Regions from separate parts of the Homo sapiens genome. Here all the other regions are linked to region 2. The links are contacts of gene promoters, found by promoter capture Hi-C in blood cells and fetal thymus (Javierre and others, 2016). All regions are on one chromosome and are shown on one strand. The core of a region is centred on a gene start or on the middle of the fragment in contact, and the rest is flanking DNA. Distances in the headings are between cores, read along the strand shown. Region 1 has its middle 2.6 kb from the start of BTAF1. Region 2 holds the start of NOC3L (NOC3 like DNA replication regulator). Region 3 holds the start of HECTD2 (HECT domain E3 ubiquitin protein ligase 2).

What was found. The method cuts DNA at HindIII sites, captures the fragments that hold promoters and counts their contacts. A CHiCAGO score of 5 or more calls a contact.
Region 1: a contact is called between a fragment that was not itself captured here and the fragment with the promoter of NOC3L in region 2, in 1 of 17 cell types (activated CD4 T cells). The highest score is 6.4, in activated CD4 T cells.
Region 3: a contact is called between the fragment with the promoter of HECTD2 here and the fragment with the promoter of NOC3L in region 2, in 1 of 17 cell types (total CD8 T cells). The highest score is 5.1, in total CD8 T cells.

What each region holds. Positions count from the first base shown.
Region 1 is chr10:91,919,267-91,923,171 of GRCh38, forward strand. No RefSeq gene overlaps it. Among named protein-coding and RNA genes, the nearest start is that of BTAF1, 2.6 kb to the right of the region's middle. RefSeq lists an enhancer at 3,246-3,779. The HindIII fragment of the contact is 1,456 bases long and covers 802-2,257 here.
Region 2 is chr10:94,360,923-94,365,116 of GRCh38, forward strand. NOC3L (NOC3 like DNA replication regulator) reads right to left here and starts at 2,017. Exons shown (of 21, transcript NM_022451.11): 1 at 1,908-2,017; 2 at 743-950. The coding sequence starts at 1,916. RefSeq lists an enhancer at 1,691-1,950 and a silencer at 2,091-2,220. The HindIII fragment of the contact is 1,523 bases long and covers 923-2,445 here.
Region 3 is chr10:91,408,200-91,412,035 of GRCh38, forward strand. HECTD2 (HECT domain E3 ubiquitin protein ligase 2) reads left to right here and starts at 2,145. Exons shown (of 21, transcript NM_182765.6): 1 at 2,145-2,377. The coding sequence starts at 2,240. The region is part of intron 3 of HECTD2-AS1 (HECTD2 antisense RNA 1); the gene reads right to left. RefSeq lists an enhancer at 1,552-1,761 and a silencer at 1,912-2,501. The HindIII fragment of the contact is 4,522 bases long and covers 1-2,992 here.

The DNA of each region.
Region 1 (3,905 bases), core at 280-2,779, 2.4 Mb before region 2:
CATGATTGTGCCACTGAATTCCAGCAACAAAGCAAGACCCTGTCAAAAAAAGAAAGAAAGAAAAGAAGGAAGGAAGGATGGAAGGAAGGAAGGAAGGAAGGAAGGGAAGGAAGAAAGGAAGAAAGCAAGAAAGCCTAGCACTTTGGGAGGCCGAGGCAGGTGGATCACCTGGAGTCAGGAGTTTGAGACCAGCCTGGGCAACATGGTGAAACCCCGTCTCTACTAAAAATGCAAAAATTAGCCAGGTGTGGTGGCAGTTGCCTGTAATCCCAGCTACTCGGGAGGCTGAGGCAGGAGAATTGCTTGAACCCAGGAGGCGGAGGTTGCAGTGAGCCAAGATTGTGCCATTGCACTCCAGCCTGGGGGACAAGAGCAAGACTTCGAAGGAAAAAAAAAAGGAAAGAAAGAAACTTCCATTAGGCATTTCTTGTAGGGCAGACCTAGTAGTGATGAGTTTCTTCAGCTTTTGCTTGTTTGGGAAAAACTTTATTTCTTCTTCATTTCTTCATTCCTTTCAGCACTTTGAATATATAATCTTATTCTTTCCTGGCCTATAAGGTTTCTCCTGAGAAATCTATTGGTAGTCTAATGGAGATTCCCGTATATGTGACTTGACACTTTTCTCTTGCTGCTTTTAAAATTCTTTATTTTTCTTTAAATTTTGACAGTTTGATTATTATGTGCCTTGGTGAGGATGTCTTTGGGCTGTATTTATTGGGGGATCTTTCAGTTTTATGAATCTGCCCCTCTATATCTGTCCCAAGACTTGAAAGGTTTTTTTAGCAATAATTTCACTAAATAAGCTTTTTCGTTATCACTTCTCCTTCCTTAACTCCTATAATGTGAATATTTGTTCACTTAATGGTGTACATTTAGTTATTATAAATAATAATAACTAAAATAGTTAATCATAATAGTTAATATTTATTTAATACTTAGTCTTTTCTTTTCATTGAAACAGGGTCTCCTTCTGTCACCCAGGCTAGAGTAGAGTAGCATGATCATGGCTTACTGTTGCCTCAAGTTCCTGGGCTCAAGGGATCCTCCCACCTTAGCCTCCTGAGTAGCCAAGATTATAGGCACATGCCACCAACAGCTGGCTTTTTTTTTTTTTTTTTTTTTGAGACGGAATCTTGCTCCATCACCCAGGCTGGAGTGCAGTGGCGTGATCTTGGCTCACTGCAAGCTCTGCCTCCCAGGTTCATGCCATTCTCCTGCCTCAGCCTCCCGCGTAGCTGGGACTACAGGTGCCCGCCACCATGCCCGGTTAATTTTTTGTATTTTTCATAGAGACTGGGTTTCACTGTGTTAGCCAGGATGGTCTCCATCTCCTGACCTCATGATCTGCCTGCCTTGGCCTCCCAAAGTGCTGGGATTACAGGCATGAGCCACCGCACCCAGCCTAATTAAAAAAAATTTTTTTTGTAGACATGAGGTCTCCCTATGTTGCCCAGGTTGGTCTCGAATTCCTGGGCTCAAGCGATCCTCCCACATCAGCCTCTCAACGTGCTGGGATGACAGGCATGAACTATCACACCTGGCTAATACTTAGTATTTTCTAAGTGTGTCATGTATGAACTCATTTCTTCCTTATGACAATTCTATAAGTACAGGTTCATGATCTATTATTTACAATTCTGAAATTGAAAATGGTCTGAAAACCACACTTTTAAAAACTCACCTATAGTCCCAGCTACTCATGAGGCTGAGATGGGAGGACTGCTTGAGCCCAGGAGTTCAAGACCAGCCTTGGAAACAGCAAAATGCCATCTCAAAATATATATATTTGGCAGCAAATCCTGGCCTGAACTGGCATATGCCTATCTATAGTCTTTTACTTATTCCTCTTAGTATGGTTAGTCATACATTTTGCTGCAGCTCTATAAATATATTTGATTATAGAGTACTGCCCTACAAGCTGTTGGGATGCTGCATAATACAAGGTATATTCATTGGATTTCTTTTCAAAACCTAAATAATTCTTAACTCAGAAAACCATCTGGCAGGGGTGATGAACTGGTATAGATAACGGTGGTGAACTGGTACTATTATTATCCCCGTTTCACAGCTGAATAAATTGAGACTAGAAATTGCCACTTACTCAAGTTTCCATTGTTAACAAAAACAGTAAGCAATGTAGTTAATAATATTTTTGAGGGCTTCTCGTGGCAGTCACTTGGTTAAATGTTTTATGTGCATTAATTTAATCATCACCGCAACCCTATGAGTACTATTATTATCCTCATTTCCCAGATGAAGCTTAGAGAGGTTCTAAAATTCCCCCTGGAGACACTGCGATTCAGTGTGGTGAGAAAGGATTTAAAAACAAGCCGGTCCAATATCAATATATTTGATTATTACACTATCCTTTACAAATCTACACCACCAGTCCTTTCCTCTCTTCTAATGCCATTTAGACTATATACCCAATTATCTGATAATAAAAAGATTTAAAAAATATAACTAAGATCATTTTACTCACTTGCTTAAAACTCTATGACTTTCTACTTCATATGGAGCAAAGTCCAAATTCCTTACGATGATCCCTTTCTACTTCTCCCATCTCATTTCCCAACAGAGCAGACTTCTCTTACGCCTTTGCACTACGTATACCCTCTTCCTGGAAGGCTCCCAGATTGTCACACATTTAGCTACCTCTTGTCATTTAGGGCTCAGCTTAAGCTAATCCTGTTTTTCCCTGATTTACCCAGTAAGAGTAGGTCTTTAATCATACCATTAATTCCATCATTCTCTTTACATAGCACATAAATATATTTTCAATGTTTATCTATTTTCTTTTTCCTTTCCTTTTAATGTAAATTCAACCAGAGTAGGCACCTTGTCTGTTCTGGTTTCTTCAGAAGTTCCAGTCTCTCATATGGTAGGTGCTTAATTTTGGCTAAATGATTGCTGTACACGATCAGTAAAAAGTATCTGCTTGTTATTGAATGGTGGGAGATAAACTGATGAGGCAAGTAGGTGACTAAAGTGAAAATGTAAAGATATCTTGAACATCAACTTGATTAGATTTTAATAGCATGAACACCGCCAAGCAGAGTTTCTGATACAGAGAGGTGACAAACATTTGTTGAATGACTGGACAATAAATATTATTACTAGCTTGAATCTTGAGGCAAATTACTTAACCTTTCTGAGCTTAGTTTCCTTGTCTACGAAGATTAAAACTAACTTTTCAAGGCTTCCCTACAAATTATATGGATAATGCATGTCATGTGCCCAGCACACAGCAGGTACTTGTTAGTTTCTTTCTCTTTACATACATATATACTACTTTATGGTTTACAAAGTTCTTGTAAGCTCTTCTAGATTCATGACCTCATTTTATTCCCACAATCTTCTGCAGTACTTCTCATTAGCCTCATTTTACAGATGAAAAACAGACTCAAGGATTGAGACATAGCCTCTTCAGGTAATGAGAAGCCAATGGACATGCTTTATAAGCATAGGAGCGACATGATAAAAAGCAGTGAGGTTTTTTGAAGATTAATCTGTTGGCCTATAAAATGGGCTGAACTGAAAATTGGAGAAATATTATTTTGACTACTAGCATAAAAATCAAGTTTAAGGGCCGGGCGCAGTGGCTCACACCTGTAATCCCAGCACTTTGGGAGGCCGAGGCGGGCAGATCACTTGAGGCCAGGAGCAGGAGACAAGCCTGGCCTACATGGCGAAACCCCGTCTCTACTAAAAAATACAAAAAATTGGCCCGGCGTGGGGCTCGTGTGCCTCCCAGCTACTCGGGAGGTTGAGGCACATTTAGAATCGCTTGAACCCGGTAAGCGCAGGTTGGCAGTGAGCCGAGATCGCGCCACTGCACTCCAGCCTGGGCGACAGAGCGAAACTCGGTCAAAAAAAAAAAATCAAGTGTAAGATGATAAGGGCCT
Region 2 (4,194 bases), core at 767-3,266:
GACTGCCTGAGCCCAGGAGGTCAAGGCTGTAGTGGGCTATTTTTGCACACTGCACTCCAGCCTGGGTGACAGAACAAGACCCTGTCTATTTAAAATAATAATAATAATTTTTAAAAAATGGACCTGAGAAGACTGAATAGTTGTCTAATAATCTGATATAGTCAAATAAGAATACCCTAAAAGTACCAGCAAAGTTGTAGAACTAGCCTGACTCAAAATAGTCATATTCCTTACAAGTTTTGAGTACTTAATAATTTTTAGATAGTTTTACAAAATAACCATGACAATTACAACTCAATTTCACCCCAAGTTTCCACATGAAAAGAAAGTCAGAAGTTTAGAAGTGTACCTTGGCAATACTGTGAAGAATGAACCAGAGACAAGCAATGTTCTTACCTTACCTAACTGCTGGTGAATGGCAAAGTGGCAGCACTGGCACACTGCCCAATATTTATGTAACGGAGTACTTTCAGTTTGTTTTCCCAAGTAGTGCATCTTCAGATCTGCCTTCCAGACAAACTAAAAGCAGAAGCTTGAATGAATACTGTATTGAAATGTTTTCTCATACTGACTGTGATAAAGCATATATGCTTTATAGCAGTCCTATAGGACTACTATCCTTACCCACTCTAGGAAGATCTGAGAACAAGAAAAGCGATTACTAGAAAGCAAAGTTATTTCCATGAAGAACACTTCAGAATAAATCAATGGAAACCAGAGCACATGATGTTTTCACAATTACCTGGTCGCTTTTCCTTTGGGTTCTCCAATGGAATGGGTTTCTTAGACACAGCATCTTTCACAGCTTGCCTTAGTTTCCTCTGTTCTTTTCGGTACTTCTTGAGAGTGCTTTGTTGTTTAAACTGCTTATTTTTTAGCTTGTTTTCAAGTTTGACTTTACTAGTTTTTATTAACTTGCGAAAGCTTGGGATCTGTTTTTTATTTCTTCTCTAGAAAATAACAGAAAGAATACTGCATACCCAGAAACTTATTTTTTAAATCAGGTTAAAGAGAACTGATTACAAATTTCATTAGACCAATTCCACAATTTCAATGTCCCACAGCCACAGACTTGCATATAAAAGCTAAAACCAAACGATGGCTTTAATCCTACAGAAGAGCGCTACAGCATCAGTTATTCAATCCCAATTCACAGCAATTCAAAGGGTTCTACGATCCCCAAACAGGTTAAGAACCACTGATCTAGTAGTGGTAAGTGGCTATTCAAGGCTAGTTTAACACACCTGTAGTTTAACACATTCAAAGCAAAATGCTGGCTGTCTTTAATAAAACTTACATTTATCTACGATTTTATTACTTACAAAGTGCTCCAACAAATCACCTCTAACAGCCTAGTTGAGTACTGACTGCTGTTATCCTCACATTACTGATGAAGCTGCCAAAAGACCCATAAACTAAGGAGGGCAAAACTGAATTCGGATCTTTGGATTCCACTTCTCTTGCTGGTGACTCATTCAGAAATCCCAAAGTTAGTCCTGAACCCCAGGACTACCTCTTATTTTCTGGGAGAACCAGGACAAATCACTTGCTTTTCTATCTCTTTACCCTTCATGGGTACCGTGACTCACATTATAAACTCGCTGAGGGTAGGACCCTGCTTCTCATTTGTGAAAAACGAGTTCGAAAGACGGTCTTGAAAAATTCCTTCAAAGTATGAAATCCCACGCATGCAAAACTCCGTGCCTGTCTCTTCGTGATACTCTGAAGTGGTGCGCGCACACAGTGGGTAACCAAGGATGAGCTCGGTGTAAGGAATGGAAAGCCCCCAGTCTAAACCACCGCCCCCTAGACACGGGTGAAAACCTGCCTAAAAGCTAACTCAGGCAGTGACTCTATCACCCGAAGGGGCCCTAGGCCGCGGCGACCGGGCTTTTGAGGACACTTACCGCCTTCATCCTTAGGCCTTAAATGAATGCCGGCCAGACAAGTTCACCAGAAGCAGGGTTACTACAGAAATCCCGGGGAATGACACACGTGCCGAAGTCCCTACACTACCAGAGCCGGAAACGGCCTTCAGTCCCTCCCAATCCTCCGCCGCCGGAAGTGAGGGCGGGACTTCCGTAGACAGGTTCGGGCTCGCGCCCTCTCGCGGTGACTGTCTCGCGGCCCTGGACCGGTTGCCCCCCGGCGTGCGCGCGCGGACTGGCACGAGGGAAGCCCCGAGGGCGTCGGTGCCAAAGGCGGGAAGCCGGGCGGGAGGGGCGCATTTTGCAAGGTTATCTGAGTATGATTCTTTGACTCTCGCCCTATTTATTTCTTTTAAAACCTTGGGGAAATCGGGCTCCTCCTCTCAGAATGAGAGGACTTGGTTTTTTCGGTCACCTCATTGCATTTTGTGCCTCTCCTCACGTTGCTTATCTCATGCTGTTATAGATACTGATTTTCGTAGTCTTTTTCCTCCATACAGTCCTGAGGGCAGAAAGAAGCTTATTTTTTGTGTGTAATGCCTGCCCCTCGACGGACATTCTGGCCGTGTTTGTAGCATGGCGAATGATTTCTCATCAGCCTTGGTCACTTAAAAGTCTGTGATTCTTAGTGTTTTATTTTGCATTTTTTTTTTGCTTTAATTTTTAACCATTAGCTGATAAAGAACTGTATCCATGGCTGGGTGCGGTGGTTCACGCTTGTAATCCCAGCACTTAGGGAGGCAGAGGCGGGTGGATCACCTGAGTTCCAGGAGTTCGAGACCAGCCTGGCCAACATGGTGAAACCCTGTCTCTACTAAAAATACAAAAATCAGCCAGACATGGTGGCGTGCGCCTGTAATCCTAGCTACTCGGGAGGCTGAGGCAGGAGAATCGCTTGAACCCAGGAGGCAGAGGTTGCAGTGAGTCGAGATCACACCACTGCACTCCAGCCTGGGTGACAGAGCAAGACTGTCTAAAAAATAAAAATAAAAATAAAAAACTGTATCTGCATTTCAGTATCTTACAACTTTGGGTAAATTCTGTCTGCTTAGTAATTTCACCAAAGTCGTTTTTTGTTTTTGTTTTTTGAGACGGAGTCTTGCTCTGGCGCCCAGGCTGGAGTGCAGTGGCGCAATCTGGGCTCATTGCAAGCTCTGCCTTCTGGGTTCACGCCATTCTCCTGCCTCAGCCTCCCGAGTAACTGGAACTACAGGCGCCCGCCACCACGCCCAGCTAATTTTTTTTGTATTTTTAGTAGAGACGGGGTTTCACCGTGTTAGCCAGGATGGTCTCGATCTCCTGACCTCGTGATTCGCCCACCTTGGCCTCCCAAAGTGCTGGGATAACAGGCATGAGCCACCGCGCCCCGCCTAAAGTCGTTCATTTTTACAGGAAGTTTTATGGATTGCAAGAATAAGAGTATCAAAGTGCTTGTCTCTCAAAGACTTTTTTTTCTCAATAAATTTAAGCATTCCACTTCAAGTTTTTTGTGGGTTTTTTTGAGTCTATGATTTTTGAGCATGGCCCTGACACAGAGTCTGGCCTCGCAGTCCTGAGCAGGTGGGAAAACCCAGTAGTGCGGCTCAAAGGGTTCTGAGCCCCTTGAATAGTGTTGCTCTTAGAGAGACTGAGGGAAAAAAGTACCAATTTCCTGATCCCACCACAAAGACCAAGAGGTCCATCTGGCACTCTTCTTTCAACCTCCCTTCCAACTTCTTCCTTGCTCTGTCTCCTTCCACACAGTGTCAGAAACAGCAGAGCCTGTCCCGCTGGAGTATTACTTCATCAAACAAGTGGAAAACATCAGCCTGTGCTCTTCCCAAGTGCCTGAATTCCCTCCCAAGCATATCAACATATCTACAGTCACTCCCATCCTTTTAGCCTTCCTTCCAGTCTCTCCAAGGATGAGGCATCCCCATTCCAGTTCAAAACCAACTCCTCCCAGCTTCATCAGATTCTTGTATCATTAATTATCCCTTCTTTCCTGTGTTCTTTCCCTCTCTAATAGATCCTTCCCCTCAGCTTATAAACATATTCAAATCTCTTCCATTTTTAAGATTTGTTCTAATAAACTTATCTCCCTTTAATTGCTCTTTTATGTGCCTCTTTTCCTACTTGTCCCTACTTCCAGAAAAAAGTATTCTTTTAGCGTCTCCACTTTCTCTTCTCTATTGTCATAGCCCAATCCTGTGCTAGTATTTTCTTTTTTAATATAAAGATTGCCTTTTTTTATTTTTTTTCTCTGTTGCCCAGGCTGGAGTGCAGT
Region 3 (3,836 bases), core at 895-3,394, 3.0 Mb before region 2:
AAGCTAATTAATCAGAGAATTTGTTAAGAAATGGGTTATCTACTCTGGTGCAGTAGCAGAAATTAACATTTTTGACTTGCCTTGTTTTGCCAATATTTAAGCAGTTTGTTCTATTGAATGTGACTACATGTACAGACACACTTTTATTTAGTCTCACACATGAAAAAAGAAAGCAGAAGGCCTGTTATCCAAGTGGTTTCTCATCCAAACATTTTTATAGCAAATTACTAAATCTAGTTGAAAACAATAGGAAAGAGGATACTTTTCCCTCTAGTATTTGTTCTATCAACCTAGACTTAGCACAGAATATCTGAAATTGCAGCTAAAATAAAGGCTTCATTTTATAAAATAACATTTGAGTTGTTCCTGTATCCATGATCAGCATACAGACCTGCTAAAAGCAGAAAATAATGTTATGTTCCTCTCTATGGGATGAGTATTTCAGTAGTTTTAAGGAAAGAAAATCCTGAAAAAGAATTTAGAAAAATATTAATAGAAAGGAGGAGGATGCTTCAAAGTAATGCCGACATACATCATTTTCCCTCCAAGGCTATTAGCACTGAAATACTTTTTGCTGACTATATGGCACTTATTCTATACCTTTTGTTAATTAACAAGTAAATAGGTGGCAACAGCAACTATATTAAAGTAGAAAGCCTTTCTATAAATGAAAGTCAGAATTCAAAATTTAGAAGGCAACATTGTTTGCTTCAGATCTACTTGTTACAAATTGTGGGTTTGAAAACATGCAACCTTATCTCATGATGCACCATAACTAGTATTTAGTTATACTAATAACTCCAAATTATGTAAACAATAGATACCCCGAAATCATATTTGGGTTTGTTTCAGAGATATTTTTGGTTCTTATATTTGGACTTAGGTACTCTTGATCTAAAAATTCACTCAACCTCCAATAAAATAATGAAGGCACAGATAAAAAATCTGATAGAGCTGAATATCGAAATTCCTTGCTTTTAACAGGCGATACAGCGCATTCTTACTCTCTTTTCTCCTAGATCAGCAGGTGTCCCCGCCGCTCCAGTAGACTGAGAAAAAGGAAAAGGAGGGGGCGACAAGAAAGGAAAGGAAATTGTCTAGGTGTCCTGGTGGTGGAGGTGGGGGGTATTTTAATTTCATAATTAAAAGCTCTCTTCTTCGGCTTTCAAGTTTTTACTCCTATTTGTAATGATTTGATTGAGGACTGTGCAGCAGAGTTTGGGTATGTACATCTCTAACATAAACGGAAAGGAACAAGGAAGGGACGGATAGGAGACAGCAAAGGGTTGCGGGGAGAGAGCAAAACGTAGGCGCGTGGGGACGGGAAGGGAGAGGCGGATTTGGCAGTCAAAGAGGGACGAGAGGAACAGGAATGGAAAGTGTGGACTGGCCGTCCAATCCTATGGGGGAAGGGGAAAGGGGGGGCCCACCACGTCGCACTCCTCCCCACCTCCAGGCTTTTCCTGTGTAGGCTGAAGCCATCCAGGCGTGTACAAAAGAGTCGGTTGCTGAGCCAGGAAGGCTGTCTCCCCGGGCTGCGCAAGCTCCGGGCCGCCTCTCCTGGGCTCAGGAGGGCGGGCAAGGATAAGAAGGCAGAAGCCCCAAGGCGGACAGCTTTGTGGGCGCCTGGAAGAAGGCGAAAGGCCACCAGCCCAGACCCCGAGGGCGCTTGCCCGCGGGACTCGGCGCCGCAGGCCAGGGCCGTCCGTGAAGGGTAGTCTGTGCCTACGTCCTGCCCTACTGGTACCACTCGGACACTCTATCCCCGTCCGACCCTTTGCAGGGCTCGACTTGTCTCCCCGACTGCCCGTCCTTAGTCCAGGTTCTCCTGCGCGGCCCGGGTGCGGGGTCTCCTCGTCATCTCGGGCGACACTCTGCAAACAATATGGCGGTCGGGCGTCGACCGTGGCGCCTTCTCTCCGGGCCCTCGGGGTTGACGAGGGGGACTACCGCCGGCGCTCCCGACCCGCGACGCGCGAGCCCCGGGCGGGCGGGGGAGGCGAGAGCAAGAAACCTGTGGGACCTGTGGGGAGCCGCGTCCGCGGGGCTGGCGCGCGCGGGGGCGGCCTCGGGCTCGCGCGCAAAGGCGCGGGCGCGGGCGGGGGCGGAGTGGCGGCGGCAGCGGCGGCTAGAAGCGGCAGCCCAGAGCCCTCTCGCGGCCGCGGCGGCAGCAGCAGCGCCAGCCCCAGCAACACTGAGGCCGCCGCCGCCGCCTGGCGCTCCCGCCGCCCGGCCCGACATGAGTGAGGCGGTTCGGGTACCCTCGCCCGCCACTCCGCTGGTGGTGGCGGCGCCCGCGCCTGAGGAGAGGAAAGGGAAGGAGTCAGAGCGCGAGAAGCTGCCGCCCATCGTATCGGCGGGCGCCGGCGCGACCGCGGTAGGTGGTGGGCCGGGGCCGTCTGGCGCCCCGGACGGCGGGAGTTGGGAGGGACGGCGGCCGGGCGAGGGCCGTCAGGAGGCCTGCGTTTACCCTGGGCACGCCCTGGCACTCCAGGGAGACGCACTCAGGCCGCCCTTCCTTGGGCAGAAATAAAAGAGTTGTGCCTCGTGGACAGCCCCGAACACTTCGCGAGGTACACCTACCACCCTCGGGAAATGTTGGGGGTGGTCGGTTCCGCTGGATGTTTGGGTTATTTTCTGGGGCTTGGGCCCCCACTTTCTCTAAGAGAATGACCTGCATCTTGAGTCGGCATGATCTGTTGGATGAGCATAGGTGTCAGCAGGCGGGAGTGGGTTTTCCACGGAGGTGCCTGCCTGCCTGCCTGCCTTGGAGGCGCGCAGATTTTTGTCCTTTTCTTCGCTTTTCTTTCCCTTCCCCCTTCAGATTAAACAGGCTCTGCGGCGAGTTTCCACTTAATTGTGACCTTTCCGTTGCTGTCAGTGTAGTGGGAGGTAGATGCATCAGTGATGGTTTTATTTTTCATATGGTACAGACATGTGACTCAGGTGGGGGGAGGCTTTTTGAACCTTTTATTTAAACCCAAGTTATCTAAGCTTGACAGGGATGATTTCCCAGCTGTATCTTCGTAAGGGTTATTTGGAGAGCGCTGTCAGGCTTCAAACTACATATTGCCAGATGATGTCATGGGACAGCCCCCTCCCCCTCTTTCCCTATTTTTACTGGTGGTTGTGACTGGTTAATTTGAAGCACAATTTAAAAAAAAACCTCGGATTTTGCAATTTTTTATTTTGACATAATATTTAAGTACTTTTTGAAAGTTTGCTTTGATATATTTAAAGATCATGACTTGTCATGCAGCTGTGTGTGACAAAATAGTAAAAGTTTAGTGAACATTATACATTTTCTTTATTCCTACTTGCGGTTCATTTCTTAAAACCTCCCTCTTAAATGACTAAGAACTTACTAAAATAGCTCACTCTTCGTTAAGTACTGTATTGGTGTTAGGAATAATTTTCGGATTCGGTAGGTTTTTCAAAAATGTCTGAGGGCCCTGATAACTGGAAATTGTTAAAACAAGCTCTTTAAATCAATGCAGCAAATTGCGAACAGTAATGATACACGTTTAAAAGCGTAGCTACAATTGATTGGTAGATTGGAGCTGGGGTTAGGGATTACCCTAGAAAATGCTTTGAAGGAATTTGTCACCCAGCTGCTTGGAGACCTGGTTCCTGCTGCTGGTACCCTAGGTTTTCAGATTTTATATAGGAAGTCTTTAACTCACAGAATTCCAGCAGTTCATTTCTAAGTTGGTTGTTTAAAACAGTAAATGTATGTACTTATAGAAACAGTTAAATGAGTGGGTTTAGGTCCTCAAGCAAACGCTCTCCCAAAAACCTATTCATCTCATAACTGAAAAATTGCCGTTTTGGAATTT